7 separate regions of the Homo sapiens genome follow, and regions 1, 2, 3, 4, 5 and 6 are each linked to region 7. Evidence: promoter capture Hi-C in human tissues and cell types (Jung and others, 2019). All regions are on one chromosome and are shown on one strand. The core of a region is centred on a gene start or on the middle of the fragment in contact, and the rest is flanking DNA. Distances in the headings are between cores, read along the strand shown. Region 1 overlaps SMG6 (SMG6 nonsense mediated mRNA decay factor). Region 2 overlaps SMG6 (SMG6 nonsense mediated mRNA decay factor). Region 3 overlaps SMG6 (SMG6 nonsense mediated mRNA decay factor). Region 4 overlaps METTL16 (methyltransferase 16, RNA N6-adenosine). Region 5 overlaps SMG6 (SMG6 nonsense mediated mRNA decay factor). Region 6 overlaps SMG6 (SMG6 nonsense mediated mRNA decay factor). Region 7 holds the start of TSR1 (TSR1 ribosome maturation factor).

Evidence for each region. The method cuts DNA at HindIII sites, captures the fragments that hold promoters and counts their contacts. A contact is called where the count stands out against the background at its distance.
Region 1: a fragment that was not itself captured here is called in contact with the fragment with the promoter of TSR1 in region 7 in 3 of the 25 tissues and cell types used here (IMR-90 fibroblasts, ovary and pancreas).
Region 2: a fragment that was not itself captured here is called in contact with the fragment with the promoter of TSR1 in region 7 in 1 of the 25 tissues and cell types used here (pancreas).
Region 3: a fragment that was not itself captured here is called in contact with the fragment with the promoter of TSR1 in region 7 in 4 of the 25 tissues and cell types used here (adrenal gland, aorta, heart left ventricle and 1 more).
Region 4: a contact is called between a fragment that was not itself captured here and the fragment with the promoter of TSR1 in region 7, in 2 of the 25 tissues and cell types used here (IMR-90 fibroblasts and mesendoderm cells).
Region 5: a fragment that was not itself captured here is called in contact with the fragment with the promoter of TSR1 in region 7 in 1 of the 25 tissues and cell types used here (pancreas).
Region 6: a contact is called between a fragment that was not itself captured here and the fragment with the promoter of TSR1 in region 7, in 1 of the 25 tissues and cell types used here (small bowel).

Annotation. Positions count from the first base shown.
Region 1 is chr17:2,091,963-2,094,818 of GRCh38, forward strand. All of the region lies in intron 13 of SMG6 (SMG6 nonsense mediated mRNA decay factor), which reads right to left. The region is part of intron 1 of SMG6-AS1 (SMG6 antisense RNA 1); the gene reads left to right. Among named protein-coding and RNA genes, the nearest start is that of SMG6-AS1, 3.7 kb to the left of the region's middle. The HindIII fragment of the contact is 3,990 bases long and covers 1-2,856 here.
Region 2 is chr17:2,140,226-2,143,284 of GRCh38, forward strand. All of the region lies in intron 13 of SMG6 (SMG6 nonsense mediated mRNA decay factor), which reads right to left. Among named protein-coding and RNA genes, the nearest start is that of SMG6-AS1, 52 kb to the left of the region's middle. The HindIII fragment of the contact is 3,350 bases long and covers 1-3,059 here.
Region 3 is chr17:2,164,563-2,167,315 of GRCh38, forward strand. All of the region lies in intron 13 of SMG6 (SMG6 nonsense mediated mRNA decay factor), which reads right to left. Among named protein-coding and RNA genes, the nearest start is that of SMG6-AS1, 76 kb to the left of the region's middle. RefSeq lists an enhancer at 1,133-1,427. The HindIII fragment of the contact is 7,332 bases long and covers 1-2,753 here.
Region 4 is chr17:2,486,620-2,489,654 of GRCh38, forward strand. The region is part of intron 2 of METTL16 (methyltransferase 16, RNA N6-adenosine); the gene reads right to left. Among named protein-coding and RNA genes, the nearest start is that of METTL16, 24 kb to the right of the region's middle. RefSeq lists a silencer at 2,719-2,818. The HindIII fragment of the contact is 4,023 bases long and covers 1-3,035 here.
Region 5 is chr17:2,203,030-2,205,729 of GRCh38, forward strand. All of the region lies in intron 10 of SMG6 (SMG6 nonsense mediated mRNA decay factor), which reads right to left. Among named protein-coding and RNA genes, the nearest start is that of SMG6, 99 kb to the right of the region's middle. The HindIII fragment of the contact is 6,435 bases long and covers 1-2,700 here.
Region 6 is chr17:2,111,435-2,114,316 of GRCh38, forward strand. The region is part of intron 13 of SMG6 (SMG6 nonsense mediated mRNA decay factor); the gene reads right to left. Among named protein-coding and RNA genes, the nearest start is that of SMG6-AS1, 23 kb to the left of the region's middle. The HindIII fragment of the contact is 7,204 bases long and covers 1-2,882 here.
Region 7 is chr17:2,335,204-2,337,903 of GRCh38, forward strand. TSR1 (TSR1 ribosome maturation factor) reads right to left here and starts at 1,254. Exons shown (of 15, transcript NM_018128.5): 1 at 1,128-1,254; 2 at 834-937; 3 at 308-527; 4 at 57-191. The coding sequence starts at 1,224. It overlaps SGSM2 (small G protein signaling modulator 2), which reads left to right and starts at 2,298. Exons shown (of 24, transcript NM_014853.3): 1 at 2,298-2,542. The coding sequence starts at 2,486. RefSeq lists an enhancer at 1,422-1,531 and silencers at 1,762-1,891, 1,922-2,231, 2,332-2,441, 2,542-2,641, 2,672-2,700. The HindIII fragment of the contact is 7,910 bases long and covers 1-2,700 here.

The sequences.
Region 1 (2,856 bases), core at 243-2,742, 240 kb before region 7:
TGAGCCACTGCGCCTGGCCCCTTTTTCTTTTTTTTTTTTTGAGACAGAGTCTTGCTCAGTCACCCAAGCTGGAGTTGCACTGGCATGATCTCAGCTCACTGCAACCTCCGCCTCCCGGGTTGAAGCGATTCTCCTGCCTCAGCCTCCTGAGTAGCTGGGATTACAGGTGCGCACTACCATGCCTGGCTAATTTATGTATTTTCAGTAGAGACGGGGTTTCGCCATGTTGGCCAGGCTGGTCTCGAACGCCTGACCTCAAGTGATCCACCGCGCCCGGCCTTTCTCAGTCATTTCTAATCCCGGTGTCCAGATCCAACCCTCCGTAGTCCTATGGTTGGCCTGTGCTAGCTGAAGGGTCATTGGGTCACAAGATGAAATGCTAACATCATTGGTCCACCCACAGCAACCACACCATTCCATGTGTCTGGTCCCAACAGCTGTGTTTTCTTCTTAGAGGAGGCAATGAGGGCCATTATCAATCAGCCAGCATTGCACAGATGCCTGCTGTCCCCACCTGTAACCACCAGGTGTGTGCTGAAGTCTCTTAGAGAAGGGGAGGTGGGAACTGGCAAATGGTCAGATGGCAAGACCTGGTGCTGGTGGGGAGACTATCCCAAGACAGGGTTACTGAAGATCCCAAAAGGTACACGTATATTTGGCTACTAGGAAGGAGACGATGTTCACACTGAAGGGAGAACCAGGGGAACAGGGGAGTTGTGAAGCACACACAGGAAGTAATGAGGTAAATAAAGTATAAAAAACAGGGCCATTCTGGCAAGAGGCAAGACAAGGCAATACAGGAGGTTGGACAAGAGCCTGGGCTTCATAGTTACACAGACGTGAGTTCAAGTACTAACTGCCACTTCCTGGCTGTTTATCCTTAGACAAGTTACTTAACCTCTCTGAGCCTTTGTTTGCTCAAGTTGTTTGTGAGGTTTAAAAGATAATACAGGCCGGGTGCAGTGGCTCATGCCTGTAATCGCAGCACTTGGGGAGGCTGAGGCAGTGGATCACCTGCGGTCAGGAGTCCGAGATCAGCCCGGCCAACATGGTGAAACCCCATCTCTACTAAAAATACAAAAATTAGCTGGGTTAGTAGCGGGCTCCTGTAATTCCAGCTACTCAAGAGGCTGAGGCAGGAGAATCTATTGAACCCAGGAAGTGGAGGTTACAGTGAGCTCAGATCGTTCTATTGCAATCCAGCCTGGGTGACAGAGCAAGACTCTGTTGCAAAAAAAAAAAAAAAGATAAGACAAGCCTGGGCAACATAGTGAGACTGTGTCTGTCAAAAACAAACAAACAAACAAAAAAGCTGGGCATGGTGGTGCAACACACCTATGGTCCGAGCTAACTAGGAGGCTGAGGTAGGAGGATTGCTTGAGCCGGGGAAGTCAGAGCTGCAGTGAGCCATGAGCACGCCACTGCACTCTAGCCAGGGTGACAGAGTGATATCGTGACTCAAAAAGAAAAAAAAAGACAGAGGGAATACATATCAAATACTTAGCGAGATGCCTGGGCCCAGTAGGTGCTCGATAATTGAGCAGCTGGCATTTTTTTTTCCTCTTATCTCCACTCTCTTCAGAGGTGGGAGGGGCACTGCCTAACATGGCTGAGCTGTTTGGAAGCCAGTCTGAGAGGCAAGGTGGGAAGCATGGGGCTGGCACATAGCCTAGGGCCAAGGGGAGAGGCCCTGGAATGCTTACCTGGCTGTTGAAGCTGCAAAAAAAATTTTTTTTAAATTTGTCCAGGCTGGAGTTTGCAGTGGCGTCATCATGGCTTGCAGCAGGCTCAGTCTCTTGAGCTCAAGCGGGAAGCTGGCTAATTTTTAAAAATTGTTTTGTAAAGATGAGGTCTTGCTATATTGTTGGTCTCAAACTCCTGGCCTCAAGTGATCCTCCCACCTTGGCCTCCCAAAGCACTGGGATTACAGGCACGAGCCACCACTCAGGGCCTGAAATATTTTATTCAGAACTAAGGTGCTAGATCCAGGCTACTGGGCTGGCCAAGCAGGGGAGGAAAGACCTTGCCTCTCTTCAGCAATCCCTCTCCCTATTCTTCAGAAAGACTCCGGACCTAACCATAGGTATGCATGCATTACTCCAGTAATCTAGAGAGGCTCCAAGGTCCCGGGCTTCGGAACAAGCGGGCCACTAATAAATGTATCAGAAATACAGTCACAATTGCCTTGTCCATGAGGTCCCTTCACAGTGGGGTACGGGCGGTGGCTCTGCCTTTGCTAGTGGGATCGTTGAGGGTTTGAGGAGGCCCTGCAAACCCTGCAACGTAACTTTCTTTCTTTTTTTCTGAGATGGAGTCTGGCTCTGTCACCCCAGGCTGCGGTGCAGTGGCGAGATATCAGCTCACTGCAACCTCCACCTCTTGGGTTCAAGAGATTCTTCCTAAGTAGCTGGGGCTACAGGCACGTGCCACCACACCCAGCTAAGTTTTGTATATTTAGTAGGGATGGGGTTTCACCATATTGGCCAGGCTGGTCTCTAATTCCTTACCTCAAGTGATCCACCTGTCTCGGCCTCCCAAAGTGCTGGGATTACAGGCGTGAGCCACTTTGCTTGGCCAACAGTATCTTATTTTATTCTAAGATGGGGTCTTGCTTTGTTGCCCGGGCTGCTCTTGGCTACTCCGAACTCCTGGCCTCAAGGAATCCCACTGCCTTAGCCTCCCAAAGTGCTGGGATTATAGGTGTTAGCCACCGTGTCCAGCCTGGTATCTTTCTTAAATAAGACCCAGCTGGATCCTTGCCTCATGTCTCCCAATATGAAAGTAGTGATGAGAAGATCCCCAATATGGTATTTTCTACCCACCTGAATTTCCTGAGCTTAGATGTTCCAAACAAAG
Region 2 (3,059 bases), core at 262-2,761, 190 kb before region 7:
CTAGTTTTTGTACTTTTAGTAGAGATGGGGTTTTGCCATGCTGCCTAAGCTGGTCTCCTGATATCAAGTGATCTGCATGCCTCAGCCTCCCAAAGTGCTGGGGTTACAGGCGTAAGCCACTGCACCTGGCCTGACACTTTATTTTTTTAAATTCTTCATATCCAGGCCGGGTACGATGGCTCACACCTGTAATCCCAATACTTTGGGAGGCCAAGGTGGGTGGATCCTGAGGTCAGGAGATCAAGACCATCCTGGCTAGCATGGTGAAATCCTGTCTCTACTAAAAATGCAAAAAAATCAGCCGGGTGTGGTAGCACGCACCTGTTGTCCCAGCTACTTGGGAGGCTGAGGCAGGAGAATCGCTTGAACCTGGGAGGCGGAGGTTGCAGTGAGCCGAGATTGCACCACTGCACTCCAGCCTGGGTGACAGAGTGAGATTCCATCTCAAAAAAAAAAAAAAAAATTCTTCATATCCACATTGTATTCATTTTTATAACATGCAGTCAATGCAATATTTAGAAAGTAGTATTCAATTAAAAAAAAAAGCCATTGAAGCTGTCTTTAGGTGAAATCCATGCATGTCAGACCTTGTCTGAGCACTGCTTTTTACAGAAGCCTTGACAAACTGGAATTGCCTTTCAAGTATTAGTGCATTGGAATCACCTGGAGAGCTTGTTAAATGAGCCTGCTGGGCTCCACCCTCAACTGTTTATGATTCAAAAGGCTGAGGTAGGGCCTAAAACATTACAAGTTCCCAGGTGAATCTGATGCTGCTGGTAATGGCACAGAGAAATCTGGCCAGGAGAATGATCTAGAATTGCAGTGTTTAATACAGTAGCCACTAGCCACATGTGGATATTTCAATTTAACTACATTAAGATTTGTTTTTCGGTTGCACTAGCCACATTTCAAGTATTCAAAAGTCACATGTGGCCAGTGGCTACCATAGAGGATGGTGTGGAAATAGTAACTTTCCATCATTACAGTACTAAACACTGCATCATTACATAAAGTCCTATAATATTTCGCAGCACTGGCCAAGAATCTATTTGATTGCACTGGTTTGTTTAGCTTAGAGAAAAGAAAACGTAAAGAGAATTTCAAGTATAACTAAGGTGTGTCAGATATAGAAAAAACAGACTTTGTGATTTTGAGAAAACTTTTAAAAAATCATTAAGTGGGAATTACAGGAAGGCAGGCTGTGTTCAGTTTGAGAAGGAACTTTTTTTTCTTAGAGATGCGGTCTTGCTCTGTCACCCAGGCTGGAGTGCAGTGGCACAATCACAGCTCACTGTAACCTTGAAATCCTGGGCTCAAGTGATCCTCCTGCCTCAGCCACTTGAATGGCTAGGACCACAGGTGTGCACACCATACCCGCTAATTTTTAAAAAATTTTTTTGCAGAGGCAGGGTCTTGCTATGTTGCATGGCTGGTCTTGAACTCCTGGGCTCAAGTGCTCCTCCTACCTTGGCCTCCCAAAGTGCTGAGATGACAGGCACAAGCCACCTCACTCAGCCTGAGGAGGAACTTTTTATAGTGACTGTCTCATAATAGAGTAAATTCTGGGGAAGCATCTGGAGCAGAGGCCATTGAGAAAACTGGAGGACTATTTTTTCATTAGATAAGAGACTGGCCCTGATGTCTTCTAAGGAAGCTTTTAACTCCATGGTTCCTTTGTAATCAATCTGATCCAATTTTATAGTTACAATCACTGTTTACCATTTCTTTGGAATCTAGGATACTTTTCTGAAGTGTGTACTTCAGGTAGAAGAAACTTCGTTTAGTGAGGATATTTGGTGATAAACTCTGTTTTGTTTTTGTTTTTGGCGGGAGGACAGGATCTCACTATGGCTGGACTCCAATGCCTGGGCTCCAGTGATCCTCCTGTCTTAGCCTCCCAAGTGGCTGGGAATACAGGCGCACACCAGCTTCTCCCAGTCCTTATTGTTTAAAAATGTCTTTATAACACCAAAGCACAAGTAACAAAATAAAATAAACCAGATTAATTGGACTTCGTAAAAATTAAAACATTCAAGAAAGTGCAAGGACAATCAAATCATAGGGAGAAAATATTTGTAAATCATTTATCTGATAAAGGACTTGTATCCAGAATCTATAAAGAACTCCTGCAACTCAAGGCTGGGTGTGGTGACTCATGCCTGTAATCCCAGCACTTTGGGAGGCCAAGGCAGGAGGATCGCTGGAGCCCAGGAGTTCAAAACCAGCCTGGGCAACACAGTGAGACCCTCTCTGTCTGTCTGTCTATCTATCTATGAACTCCTACAACTCAATGTAATCTTTCTATCTATCTATCTATCTATGAACTCCTACAACTCAACAATAAAAGACAACCCAATTTTAAAAGTAGGCAAATATGGCCGGGCACAGTGGCTCACGCCTGTAATCCCAGCACTTTGGGAGGCTGAGGTGGGCGGATCACCTGAGGCCAGGAGTTCGAGACCAGCCTGACCAACATGGAGAAACCCCGTCTCTACTAAAAATAAAAAAAAAAATTAGCCAGGCGTGGTGGCGCATGCCTGTAACCCCAGCTACTCGGGAGGCTGAGGCGGGAGAATTGGTTGAACCTGGGAGGCGGAGGTTGCGGTGAGCCAAGATTGCGCCATTGCACTCCAGCCTGGGCAACAAGAGCAAAACACTGTCTCAAAAAAAAAAAAAAAAAAAAAAAAGTAGGCAAATATTTGAACAGTATTCCAAAGAAATACCAACAGCCACTGAACACATGAAAAGCTGTTCAACATCATTAGTTATTGAGAAATGCAAGTGAAAATCACAACTGAGATACCACTTCACACACACTAGGATGGCTATAATAAAAAAAATAATAAGTGTTAGTGAAGATGTGGGGAAATTGAACCCTCATACATTTGCTGCTAGTGAGAATGTAAAATGTTGCAGCTGCTTTGGAAAACTGTCTAGTGTGGAAGTTCCTCCAAGAGTTAAACACAGTTTACCATATGACCAAACAATACTACTTCTAGGTATATATATCTAAGAGAAATGAAAACATATGTCCACATAAAAACTCATACACAAATGTT
Region 3 (2,753 bases), core at 219-2,718, 170 kb before region 7:
GCGCCACTGCACTCCAGCCTGAGTGACAGAGTAAGAGAGTGAGACTCCCCGTCTCAAAGAAAAAACAAAAACAAACAAATAAAAAAACAACCAGCCGGGAACGGTGGCTCATGCCTGTAATCCCAGCACTTTGGGAGGCTGAGGCAGGTGGATCACCTGAGGTCAGGCGTTTGAGACCAGCCTGGCTAACATGGCAAAACCCCATCTCTACTAAAAACACAAAAATTAGCCAGGCGTGGTGACGCGTGCCTGTAGTCCCAGCTACTCCGGAGGCTGAGGCAGGAGAATTACTTGAACCTGGGAGGCAGAGGTTACAGTGAGCCAAGACTAAACCACTGTACTCCAGCGTGGGCGACAGAGCGAGACTCCATCTCAAGGAAAAAAAAAAAAATCCTTGATGACATCTGCAAAGGTCTTTTTGTCACGTAAGGTAACATGTAACAGGTTTTAGAGATTGAAGACATAAACCTCTTTGGGGTGGGGGTGTTACTTTGCCTACCACAAAGGGTTACGACAGCTCATGAGGTAGACACAGACCACCACTTGGAAGCTTTCTCACTGCTACGAATCAGTACCATTCGCAATGCTTCAGCAGTTCAGAGAGGTCTAAGGCAAATTCCCATACTAAATGGAAAGTGGCCCAATGACAGAATTTCTTCTTCACATGGTAGCTCCAAGAAGGTGACAGGACACTGCAGTATCATTTATATGAAAGAGACTGAAAAAAAAAAAACTGAAAACTAGACATGAGCGATAGCTCTGATACAGCAGCTCCACTGTATACAGAACAGAAAATGTAGAAAATAAATTCATTTATTGACATTGCACACCACTTGGTCCCCTTCCCACTCCCTTGAGGTTAATGACTTGCTAATATAGCTTATTCTTTATCCAAAATGCCTGGGACCAGAAGTGTTTCAGATTTTGGAATATTTGCACTTTATCCTTACTGGTTGAGCATCCCTAATTGGAAAATCTGAAATCAAGCTTTGGATTTTAGAGTCTTTTGTATTTCAGATTTTTGGACTAGGGATATTCAATGTGTACAAACTCTATACTTGAGCAAGGGATTTCACCTATTATCTGTGGGTCACTCTGGGAGGCCAAGGCGGGAGGATCACTTGAGCTCAGGAGTTTGAGACCATCCTGGGCAACACAGGGAGGCCTTGCCTCTAATAAAAAAGTAAAAATAATTAGCCAGGTGAGGTGACGCTTGCCTGTAGTCCCAGCTACTCAGGAGGCTGAGGGGGGAGGATCGCTTTAACCCAGGAGGTCGAGACTGCAGTGAGCTATGATCACACCACTGCATTCCATTCTGGGTGACAGAGTGAGACACTGTCTCAAAAACACAAAGAAACAAACAAAATGGACGGGCGCGGTGACTCAGGCCTGCAATCCCAGCACTTAGGGAGGCCGAGGTGGGCGGATCACTTGATGTCAGGAGTCTGAGACCAGCCTGGCCGACATAGCAAAACCCCGTCTCTACTAAAAATACAAAAATTAACTGGGCGTGGTGGCAGGTGCCTGAAATCACAGCTACTCGGGAGGCTGAGGCAGGAGAATCACTTGAACTTGATAGGTGGAGGATGCAGTGAGCCGGGGGGTCACGCCACTGCACTCCAGCTTGGGAGACAGAGCCAGACTCCATCTCCAAAACAACAACAACAACAAAAAACTACTGTAGACAAAGAAGGTATCCAGTGAGAATCTACCTAATCTGTTCAAAGAAATGTAAGTGACCAGCATCAAATCGTAGAAACTAGAGCTGAGGTCTAAGAAAATAATCTGCAATATATTAATAAAAAGGAGAATGTAGCACGCAAATAGAGAAACAAATTATATTTTGGGGGAAAAAATGCCAAATGAAAAAGAAGGTACTATCTGCTATATTCTTTCAATTGAATTTATTTTTAAAGACAAGGTCTTGCTCTGTCCCTCGGGCTGGAGTATGGTGGCACAATCACAGCTCACTGCAGCCTAGACGGCCAGGGCTGAAGTAATTCTTCCACCTCAGCCACCTGATTAGCTGGAACTACAGGTGTAATACCATCAACCCTGGCTAATTTTTATGTTTTTTGTAGGGACAGGTTTTTGCCATGTTGCCCAAGCTGGTCTCAAACCCCTGGGCTCAAGTGATCTGTCTGCCTTGACTTCCTAAAGTGCTGGGATGACAGGCATGGGCCACTGCTCCTGACCTTCAACTGAATTCTTCAAATTATAGACTCTGTGAAGTATGCTAAATGAAAAATGAAAAAGCAAAGACAGATATAAGGGGACTGAGGCCAGGCACAGTGGCTCATGCCTGTAATCCTAGCACTCTGGGAGGCTGAGGCGGGCAGATCACCTTGAGGTCAGGAGTTCGAGACCAGCCTGGCCAATATGGCAAAACCCCGTCTCTACTAAAAATACAAAAAAATTAGCTACTTGTGGCAGCGCGTGCCCCTGTAATCCCAGCTACGCGGGGGGCTGAGGCAAGAGAATCGTTTGAACTTGGGAGGCAGAGGGGGTGCAGTGAGCCGAGATCACACCACTGCACTCCAGCCTGGGCGACAGAGTAGGACTCCATCTCAAAAAAAAAAAAAAAAAAAAAAAAAGATATAAAGGGACTGACTAAAAGGCAGGCAAAAAAAATAAAGGTTATAAGATATAATGTAAGAGAACAAATAATGCAATAGAAGACTTAAAACCTGAACTAGAAGTAGTAAAGAGTAGAATCAATGCTATAAAAATATATCAAGATGACAAACTTGAGA
Region 4 (3,035 bases), core at 392-2,891, 150 kb after region 7:
TTGGAACAAAGTGGAAGCAAAGGCTCTAATTAGGAAGCTACTGCTATACCTGCGTTAAGAGGCTAGATAAAGGCTGGGTGTGGTGGCTCACAACTGTAATTCCAGCACTTTGGGTGGCTGAGGTGGGTGGATGGCTTGAGTCCAGGAGTTTGAGACCAACCTGGGTAGCATGGTGAAACCCTATTTCTATAAAATATACAAAAATTAGTCAGTGTGGTGGTGTGGTGGCATGCACCTGTGTTCCCAGCTACTCTAGGCGGGGGAGTGGGAGTAGGGCGCGGTACTGAGGTGGGAGGATCACTTGAGCCTGGGAGGTGGAGGCTGCAGTGAGCCGAAATTGTACCACTGCACTCCAGCCTGGGCAACAGAGTGAGATCCTGTCTCAAAAAAAAAAAAAAAAAAAAAAAGGCTATATCTAGATAAAGGTAGCAATGGCAGAGATAGGGAAAAGTGAAAGGAATTAGAGATATTTTGGAGAGAACATCTGTGAGATTTAGCAACGAAATGATATGTGAGCTAAGGGATGCTGTGTTTCACATGAGTCTCCCAAGGTTCTAGCTTGCTCAACAGGATAGGCGGTGCCACCCTAACTGAAGTTAGTAACTCTGGCAGAGAACCGTTTTTGAAGAGAAATATAAATCTGAGCTGCATCTGAGACATTTAAGCGGAGATGGAGCCCAGAGAAGAGGTGTGTAGAAATAAACATGTAAGTGATTTGCAAACAAACAAGTGAAGCCCTGGCACGGATAACAGCGATGAAGGAGAAAATATAAAGTGCGAAGGAAAGAGAGCTGCGGCGCAAGCTTTGAAAACTCCTTTAATAGCTGTATGCACAGTCATTACAGAGGAAGTTCCACAAGGAGACAAAGGAACACCAGAGTGGAAGAAGGAAAACCAGTTTTCCAGTGTGGTGCTGAGGAGGCCAAGGCAAGAGGGTATCCATGAAGGATAAACCAACCAGCAGAGTGACCTGCTGCTCAGAAGGCAACGGAGCCCTGAAAATCAGAGTCAGTGACATGAGGCTGCTGGAGACCTTTTAAAGAGCTGCTTTGGTAGTGGTAGAGTTAGAAACCACTGTGGAATCAGCTAAAGATTAAATGAGGGCAGAGTGTGGAAGCTCACACCTGTAATCCCAGCACTGTGGGAGGCTGAGGCGGGAGGATTGCTTGAGCCCAGGAGTTCAAGACCAGCCTGGGCAACAAAAAGAGACCCTGTCTCTACAAAAAAAAATTTTAAATTAGCCAGATGTGGTGGCAGACACCTATAATCTTAGCTACTCAGGAGGCTGAGGCAGGAGGATCACTCAGCACAGGAGGTCAAGGCTACAGTGAGCTGTGATCGCATCACTGTATTCCAGCCCAGGCAACAGAGCAAGACCCAGTCTCAAATAAAATAAAATAAATAAAATAAAATAAAAATCATGCAGTACACCTTAAATATAGACAATTTCAACTCTAAAAAATGAAAAAAACCTCAAAAGATTTGAAAACAGGACCTCAAAAAGATATCTGCACACCCATATTTACTGCAGCATTAACCCCAACAGCCAAGAGGTGAAAGCAACCTAAAGGTCCACTGACAGATTAACAGATAAAGCAAATGTGGTATATACACAAAATGGAATACTATTCTGCCTTTAAAAAGAAGGAAATCCCAGCCCGGCGCAGTGGCTCACGCCTGTAATCCCAACACTTTGGGAGGCTGAGGTGGGCAGATCACCTGAGGTCAGGAGTTTGAGACCAGCCTGGCCAATATGGTGAAACCCCATCTCTACTAGAAATACAAAAATTAGCCAGGCTTGGTGGTGGGCGCTTATGATCCCAGCTACTCGGGAGGCTGAGGCAGGAGAATCGCTTCAACCCGGGAGGCGGATAGGTTGCAGTGAGCAGAGATAGTGCCACTGCACTCCAGCCTGGGCAACAGAGCAAGACTCCGTTCCCCACCCACCAAAAAAACAAATTAAAAAAAACAAAAAAAAGGAAATCCTGTCACGTGCTAGAACATGGATAAGTCTTTGAGGATATCAAGCTAAGTGAAATAAGCGAGTCAAAAACAACAAATACTGCATGATTCTACTTTAAGGTAAAGGTATCTAAAGTAGTCTAACTCATGAAAAGGTTCTAGAAATCTGCACAACAACAAGCACAGGGTTAACACACTGTACACTTAAACTGGATTAAGATGGGACATTCTACGTTGCGTTTCTCACAACAATAAAAAAAATTAAGTGGCCTTAAATTATTATTCGCGTACTGTACTGACATCCTTCCCACTTTTCAACTCTCTGATACAGAAGACTTATTGAAGAAAATGTCCACTTTTTAAACACTCTCATGGGTCAAATAAGCAATTAGATAGTAATATACAAAAACACAGATCCTGAAACAATGGAAACAACCATTACTGATAACCCTAAGTTAACCAAAGAATCCAAAATCCTACTGGCAAAATAAAAAATTGTACCTCGATCAATCAAGCTAAACTTTTCATTCTTTTTTTTTTATTTTTTTTTATTTTTTGTAGAGAAGGGGTCTCACTATATTGACCAGGCTGATCTTGAACTCCTGGCCTCAAGCAATAGCTTCCCAAAATGTTGTGATTACAAGCATAAAGCAGCTTGAAGCCAGGCCTTCAGGCTGATCTTTTAAATGCCATTCCTATGCTAACTAAAGAGCAACTAACAGAAAAGAAAAATCTAGTCATCCAAACACCTCTTTGCCCTTTCCAGGCATAGTTAAGAATACTGTGATTTCGGCCGGGCGCAGTGGCTCACATCTGTAATCCCAGCACTTTGGTAGGCCGAGGCAGGCAGGTCACCTGACGTCAGGAGTTTGAGAGCAGCCTGGCCAACACGGTGAAACCCCGTCTCCACTAAAAGTACAAAAATTAGCCGAGCGTGGTGGCAGGCAACTGTAATCGCCATTTAATAGAGACGGTGAAATCCCGTCTCTACTAAAAATGCAAAAAAAATTAGCTGGGCGTGGTGGCACGTGCCTGTAACCCCAGCTACTAAGGAGGCTGAGGCAGGAGAATCG
Region 5 (2,700 bases), core at 13-2,512, 130 kb before region 7:
AATACATCTTGGCAAGAAAGACAGCAAACCATCTACTCTCTACAAGAAAAAATGAAAACACTTCTAAATGGGTGCTTCCCTTGTTCCAGGAAATACCCATGCAGTTTCAGAAATGGTACTCCAATAGATTTCCTGGAAAATAAATAAATAAGTAAGTTGCCAGTCAAAACACACTTTGGCCATTTCCACCTTAGTTGTGTCTCTGGATTGATATTTTTGTTACTTACAGGTTACTGTCTGAGCCCAGAGTTATTCAATACACATCCCCTCTTGGGCAGGACAGAGCTGCTGCCAGCAGAATAGCATGCTGGCACTGGACGAGTCCCTTAGTAATGGGGCCCAGGAGAACGAGGGCCTGCCATTCCAGCATCTCATTTGGAAGAGTTACAAGCAGATCTTGCAGGACAGAGTTTCTGCTTCTACACTGCTTGCCAGACGTTTTGGGAAGCTTGCCTCTCTCCCAGTATTTGAGGAAAAGCAAAGGAAGAGTAGAAAAGCATGGCAGGTCTTTAATTAAACAAGACAGGTAGTCCCTATGGAATCCCATACAGCAGATATGAGGTGTCCTGTGTCAAAAGTTATTTAAGGTTGTGGAGGAGAAGTGATATGAAAGAGGCTTCCTAAGAGGCATACCCATTAGCCAATCTAGAAGGAAGTTTTCCTGTTAACAGTCAGGAGGGAGAAATATAGCTATATCACTTTTAATAAAGCAAGGAGAGATTTGGCTGCTGATTCAGACACACACCTTGAAACCCACCTCTGCTGGCGTGAAGCTTCAGGAGCACTTTGAGCCAGAAGTAAAAATTAGGGAGGGATAATGCCTGCAGACACCCTGATTCAGAGAAACTCCATTGACAGGGCAGGCAGAGGGGCAGGGAAGTGTTCTGCTTCCATTTTTACAAATTAACTCAATTTCTTTTCATTCTGTGGCTTCCTGAACGATTTTTTTTAAGAGATGGGGTCTTGCTCTGTTGCCCAGGCTGGAGTTGAGTGGCATGGTCATAGCTCACCACAGCCTTGACCTCTCAGGCTCAAGCAATCCTCCCACCTCAGCCTCTGAAGTAACTGGGACCACAGGCATGTGCCACCATGCCCAGCTAAGGATTTTTAAAAGTCTGACAGTGTTTGTAAACAACGCCAAAAATAAAACAATTCCGAGATAGGTGAGACAGAAAGGTACCTAGAATAAAAAGGACCTCTTGGAGGCCTTCTGAGAAGTTAGCTTTTTCAGGAAGCTTCCAGAATGTAAAGATTAGAGTCATCAAACAAACTTTGAGGGGTCAGTACTGAAAAATAAGACCAATGATAAGGCACAATTTTTTGGTGGTTACCTTGTGAATATCCAGATCTGCACATTCATTTGACTCTGCTCCAGAAACTCATCCCAAAATGGTTCCTCAAGGCCTCAGAATCCATGATCAATGTCCAAACCAAACTGCGAACGTAATGACTTCATCCAACCCCACCCACTGTGGTGCATCTAGTTTTAAAGTAGAGGTCAGGAGAATAATAAGCTAGATAAAGCAGTTATGCCAAGGAAGGAAGTGAGAAAGCAGCAATGAATGAAGGTGACTAGAAATGTGCTAAGGTGCCAGCTAGTCTCCTGACCTAGAAGCTGTGGAATCGACATACCTTTTAATAATAATGCTTCCAGCTGGGCATGGTGGCTCACGCCTATAATTCCAACACTTTGGGATGCGAGGTAGGCGAATCACTTAAGCTCAGGAGTTCCTGGCCAGCCTAGGCAACGTGGCAAAACCTCACCTCTATTAAAAATACAAAAATGAGCCAGACGTAGTGGCACGTGCCTATAACCCCAGCTAATCAGGAGGCTTAGGAAGGAAGATCGCTTCAGCCTGGGAGGCAAAAGTTGCAGTGAGCTGAGATCATGCCACTACACTCCAGCCTGGGCAACAGAGTAAAACTCTGCCTTAATAGTAACATAGCCCTTCCAAATTTGTACTCAGTTGCTGGACTGGTCAATTTGTCAATACACTTACCGAAACCAATATACATTGTTTGAAACCTGTATGTATCTAGTTTTTGGTTTTTTTTCTGAGACTGAGTCTCGCTTTGTCACCCAGGCTGGAGTGCAATGGCGCGATCTCAGCTCACTGCAACCTCCGCGTCCCAGGATCAAGCGATTCTCCTGCATCAGCCTCCCAAGTAGCTGGGATTACAGGTGCTCACCACCATGTCTGGCTAATTTTTGTATTTTTAGTAGAAATTGAGTTTCACCATGTTGGCCAGCCTGGTCTCGAACCCCTGACCTCAAGTGATCCGTCCATCTTGCTGGGATTACAGCAATTACTCCCAAATTGCTGGGATTACAGGCGTGAGCCACCACGCCTGGCCTGTATCTAATTTTAAACTAGATTAAAATTTTTTATATTTACTCTTTTATACCACAATTCACAAAAGATTTGTGACAACTTACAGCAAAATCACATAAAATGAGATAACATTAAAGTAGATTAGAGAATCAAGACCAAGAAAAAGGTAAAAATGTCAATCACATGGATTAACAGCCTACCATAAACGGACTTAAAATTTGACTTAAAATTTCCTGTCAGGCAAAGCAAAAGAGGAAACACCAATAACTGTATAGTTCTCATTATTAGAAAGGAATAAGTATATCAATTCTTCAGGAAAAACAACTCCTTTTTCTCAGCACTGAGTTCTAAAATAACTTTTTAAAGC
Region 6 (2,882 bases), core at 341-2,840, 220 kb before region 7:
ACAGGATCTCGCTGTTGCCCAGGCTGCAGTACAGTGGTGTGATCATAGCTCACTGCAGCCTCGACCTCCTGGGCTCAAGCGATCCTTCTACCTCAGCCTCCCAAGTAGCTGGGACCACAGGCGCCTGCCACCACGCCTGGCTAATTTTTTATAGAAACGGGGTCTCCCTATATTGCCCAGACTGGCCTTGAACTCCTAGGTTCAAGGGATCCTCCGGCCTTGGCCTCTTAAAGTGCTGGGATTACAGGCATGAGCTACTGTGCCTGGCCCGAAAGGTCCTTAGAGCGGGTTTCTTGGGTGGTGGCTGGAGCATCAAGGAGTTCCTTCTCTGATCGAAGGGCTTGTTAGCTACACAGTTTGAAGGAAGGAGAACAGGCTTTTCCAGCTCAGCCTGGTGAGAGGAGAGGCCTTTGAGAGTTTATGCAGCTTGCACACCCGCTCCATGCAGTTTCTGGAAAGTTTCCATCACAGATGAGAGTTTTACGTTGAATTTTAAGTTTGACCACAAATATTTAAACTTCCCTGGACCACAAATACAGTATCTTCCCTGTGGTTTATCTGGCAGCAAGTACATATTTACAAATCTCTATATGTCTGCCTGTTATTTAAATTTCTTACAGAAGTGCCAAGGTCTTTAGTTGTGATTTATCCCCTCCCCCTCCGTACTGGTAGGTATAGTCTTCATTAGGCCTAACTCTTGGGAAAAGGAGGTATCTTTACAATTGAAGCTTAGAAATCTTCCTGATTAAATTTCCTATTACCGCTTCCCTCTTAAAAAAAAAAAAGTCGGCCGGGCGCGGTGGCTCACGCCTGTAATCCCAGCACTTTGGGAGGCTGAGGCGGGTGGATCACGAGGTCAGGAGATCGAGACCATCATGGCTAACATGGTGAAACCCCGTCTCTACTAAAAATACAAAAAAAAAATTAGCCAGGCGTCGTGGCGGGCGTCTGGAGTCCCAGCTACTCGGGAGGCTGAGGCAGGAGAATGGCATGAACCCGGGAGGCGGAGGTTGCAGTGAGCCGAGATCGTGCCACTGCACTCCAGCCTGGGTGACTGAGCAAGACTCTGTCTCAAAAAAAATAAAATAAAAAATAAATAAATAAATAAATAAATAAATAAATAAATAAATAAATAAAAGGCAATGGTCTGTTCCAAGTTCTTGCATTTGAATTGAAATGTAAAAATTGAATTTTTTTGGTGCTTTTTTTTTTCCACTAGGGAATTGAGAACAAAACTTAAAGCTAAATAAATCTGCATACTTTAGCTATATTAAAAAGCAAAACAGCAAACAATAAAAGCCAGGTGTAATGAGCTCCAAACTTTTTTTTTTTTTTTTTTTTGAGACAGACTCTCACTCCGCCACCCAGGCTAGAGTGCAGTGGCGCAATCACAGCTCACTGCAACCTCTGCCTCCCAGGCTCAAGCAATCCCCCTGCCTCAGCCTCCTGAGTAGCTGGGACCACAGACATGCGTCACCATGCCTGACTAATTTTTGTATTTTTGGTAGAGATGGGGTTTCACCATGTTAACCAGGCTGGTCTTGACCTCCTGAGCTCAAGTGATCTACTGGCCTCAGCTTCCCAAAGTGCTGGGATTACAGGTGTGAGCCACTGTTCCCAGCCTTTTATTTTCTTTTTTAAGAGACAGAGTCTTGCTCTGTCACCCAGGCTGGAGTGCAGTGGCATGATCAAGGCTTACTGCAGCCTCCATCTCCCAGCCTCCCAGGCTCCAGTGATCCTCCCCGCGACTTCAGCCTCCTGATTAGTGAACAGCTAGCATTGCAGGCGTGTGCCACCATGCCTGGCCAATTTTTTTTTTTATTTTTTGTAGAGATAGGGCCTATTTGCCCAGATTGGACTCGAACTCCTGGGCTCAAGTGATCCACCCGCCTCGGCCTCACAGCGTGCTTGGGTAACAGGCATGAGCCACTATGCTGGGCCTAAGGCCCAATTTCTAAATGAATACTCATTTGCTTACCAATTCCTGAACATTATAACATGCACTAGGGTTACAAAGAATACAGCACACATCCCTGCTCTCCAGCTGGGTCTTGAACAAAGCCGGCTTGGGAAAGGGTGCTGGCTCCACGAGAGCACACAATTCTTAAATGGGTCTCTGGGTTATCAGGACTGCTTTCTCTTACACAGCTGCCAAGTGAGCTATATGGCATTCTTATCAAATGAAAGCAAACAGCTAGATCATCTAAAACCCATGGCCTCAAAACCATCACTCCTACTCCATTCTGGAGATCTTATTATTTTCACCTTTCCTTTCCTGGACCTTTGGGGTATGGTCCCTATTAATATCCAGCCTACAGGGTTGAGACCCAACACAGAAAGACTTAAGGAGCATCTTCATGAAATCACTAAATTATCTCCTCCTGAGTGTCACACGAGAGTGGTGGAACTAGTTATGAAGTAACAAACCCATGCATATAAACCCATGAAAGCACAATCTAAGTCCAATGCCTACCTTTATCAAATGAACAATGACCTTCCAAGTATTTCAATCTGGAAGGCTAGAAACTCATTTCTTAAAAACTAGCATTGAGGCCAGGCACGGTGGCTCACGCCTGTAATCTCAGCAGTTTGGGAGGCCGAGGCAGGCGGATCACCTGAGGTCAGGAGTTCAAGACCAGCCTGGCCAACATGGCGAAACCCCGTCTCTACTAAAAAAATACAAAAATTAGCTGGGCACGGTGGCGCATGCCTGTAATCCCAGCTACTTGGGAGGCTGAGGCAGGAGGATAGCTTGAACCCAGGAGGCAGAGGTTGCAGTGAGCCTAGATTGCGCCATTGCACTCCAGCCTGGGTGACAGAGTGGGACTCCATCCCAAAACAAAACAAAAAATACTCCCCAAAATGAAAACAAAACTAACATT
Region 7 (2,700 bases), core at 4-2,503:
TACCAGGCATAGTGCCTGACAAATTAAAGGTGCACAATAAATGCTAACTCACTTACTATAGGTCGGAAGGCCCTGAGCAAAGAGGCAGGAAAGACAGTAATCACCGGTGCTGTCCCAGCCTTCTAGTGGATCAAGGAGGAACAGGATGGTATCAGCTACTTTAGCCATGTCTAACACAACGTGCAGATCCCCTGCAGATAGAAGACACAGTAAGAAGAGGTGGTTGGCACCAGCACATTATTCTAAAAAAAAAAAAAAAAAATACCACTACTCAAACATAATACAAAATATTGGTGTATACTCTAACCTGGCCTTGCTGAGGTGAAAAACCACCGATGTTTCAAGCGGGGGCACAGCAGCATAAAGTTCTGGGTGTTTCCCAATTCATTCAAGTGTACTGTTCCAGTGTCCCTATCTTGAAGCAGCTGCATGGCCTCTGGCAGGGAAATTCTGCTGTGCAGGGGCACCACCAGTACCTGATGAGGAGGGCCATCCTTGCCACCCAGCTGTCTCTTCTCTGCCAGAACCTGAAAATAGAAAGATATCCGAGAACATCTCAGTGTCTCAGTACTTCACTCCAGCATTGCATTTCCACTCCCACAGATGCTCCCCCTACCCAAAACCAGCATCTCTCTAGTAAAAGACCACAGGTATGCCAGCGGGGTGGCAGGAATTCTGACCAAAGCAAAGAATGCTAGACCTGCACGCTCGACACGTGCTCTAGGGCTATGCTCTGTCCCTGGACCCTCCTCCCGGTCTCATTTTCCACTTCGAGGCATTAGCCACCTAGAACACCAGAGAAGCCGCATTCTCCCAAATCCCGCTCCTCTCACCGCCTCCTTCTTCTGCTTTCGGAGCTGGCTGGCGCGATGCCTCTGGTCGACTCTGCTGAGTTCTTTTCTCACCTTCTTGCTTAGGGTTTTCAGTGCCAGACGGCCTGAATGGCAGATTAGAAGGGGCTGGTGTGATCGGCCCCACAAGGTCAAGAAAAGGGACTCCTCTCCGCCCACCTTAGAAAGGGCCTTTCGCGTGGAGCCCAGACGGGAGACAGAAGCTCAGTCTGGGCATGAGGAAAAAGAGTTAATAACGGCCAAATAGCCCTTATTCCTTCTACGTTATCTCCTTACCCTTGCCGTCCCGCTGTGCAGATCCCCGACCCCGATGCCGTCCGCCTTTATGAGCTTTATTCTGCTGCTTGAGCGGGCCGGGGCGGTGGGCCGCCATGCCGCAGCGCGCGTGTACGGAGTCAGCACTGCTTCCGGGCCAGGACAAGCGCTTCCGGTCCCCTCCAAGGGGGCGGGCCCTCCAGGGAGCGGGACTCCCTGCGCCCTCTCGCGAAGGTCTTTTCCAGCAGCTCGTGAGAGCGCCGTGTTAGCGGGTTCGCCAAGCCGCGCTGGGAACTTTTCCCACTTCGCAGTGTGTGGTTGGGGGCTTGAAGGCGCCGGATGTAGACTGTCGAGGCTCGGGCTGTTGGTCTAGCAGGGCTGTTTGTACCCCTTGCATTGTCATTTTTTTGCGCTATAAAGCTGCATCACGTAGAAGCATGTTGACTGGAAGGCTCCATTCGTGCCGAAAAGGCCTAAGCCCTTCCTGTCACCTAGATTCGGGCACGTTGCTCTTCCGTTTGCAACGGCATGTTCTTTATCACTCTGAGCAACCTTTCTTCTCCCTCGATTCCCTAGCGAGGCTTGGGAATCGCGTGGAAGACACTTCTCTCACCTTGCCCGGTTCCGTACCAGCTCAAGCCCGTCCCTGTTACTCCAACCTGCGCCCCGCCTCCCACGGAGCGGCCGGGAAGGACCTTGTGGGACGTGGCGACCCGGCAAGGGGGACTGGCCGCGACCCTCCGGCCGTCGGGCTCGGGCGGCTGCGCTCCCACTAATCTTCCCAGAAACTTGACAACTGCACGGCGACGGCCGGACGGGGATTCAGAGGGGTCACGGGGCCAGGCTGCACCGGCTTCGCCGTGGGCAGGCTCGGACCGCAGGGGACCCCATGCCCGAGCCCCGGCCCTTTCCGTCCCGTCGGGAGAGGGAGCAGGCAGAAGTCAGGGGAGCTTCAGCGGGACCGAGGCTCGCTCTCAGCCGCGGGGCCGCGGGCTCCAGGGCCAGCGCTCACAATGCGGCTTCGCGCCCTCCATGCGGGAGCGGGTGCGTTGCCATGACAGCGACCCCCGTGGCGCGCGCCCGGGTCTGCCGCCCCTAGGCGCGCACGGCCTCTCCCCGCCCCGATCCCCCGTCGCTGTGCGCAACCCCCCTCCGGCTGTGGGAAGGGGCCGGGCCTGCCGCCTGACGTCTGTGCGGGGCTCGGAAGATGGCTGCGGAGCCGAGCACCGGGCAGTGGCTGCGGCGGCGGCGGCGGCGGCGGGCCGGGAGCGCGGCGGGCGGGGGCTCCGCCTTGCGCGTGGGGCGCTGAGCCGAGAGGCGCGGAGGCGGCGAGGGCGCGGGGGCTCTGAGGACCGCTCGGCGCCGCCTCCTGCCACACCATGGGCAGCGCAGAGGACGCAGTCAAAGAGAAACTGCTGTGGAACGTGAAGAAGGAGGTAAAGTCGAGTCAAGAACCCCGGGGGGCTCGCGCCCTGGCCCGCGCGGCCCAGGGGGCAGAAAGGTCCGCGCCCACCCCCCGGCGCGGGCACCCGGGCCGAACCTGGGCCGGGCGGGGCGGGTCCTGGACGGGCTGCGCCTCCTTCCCCTTTCTCGG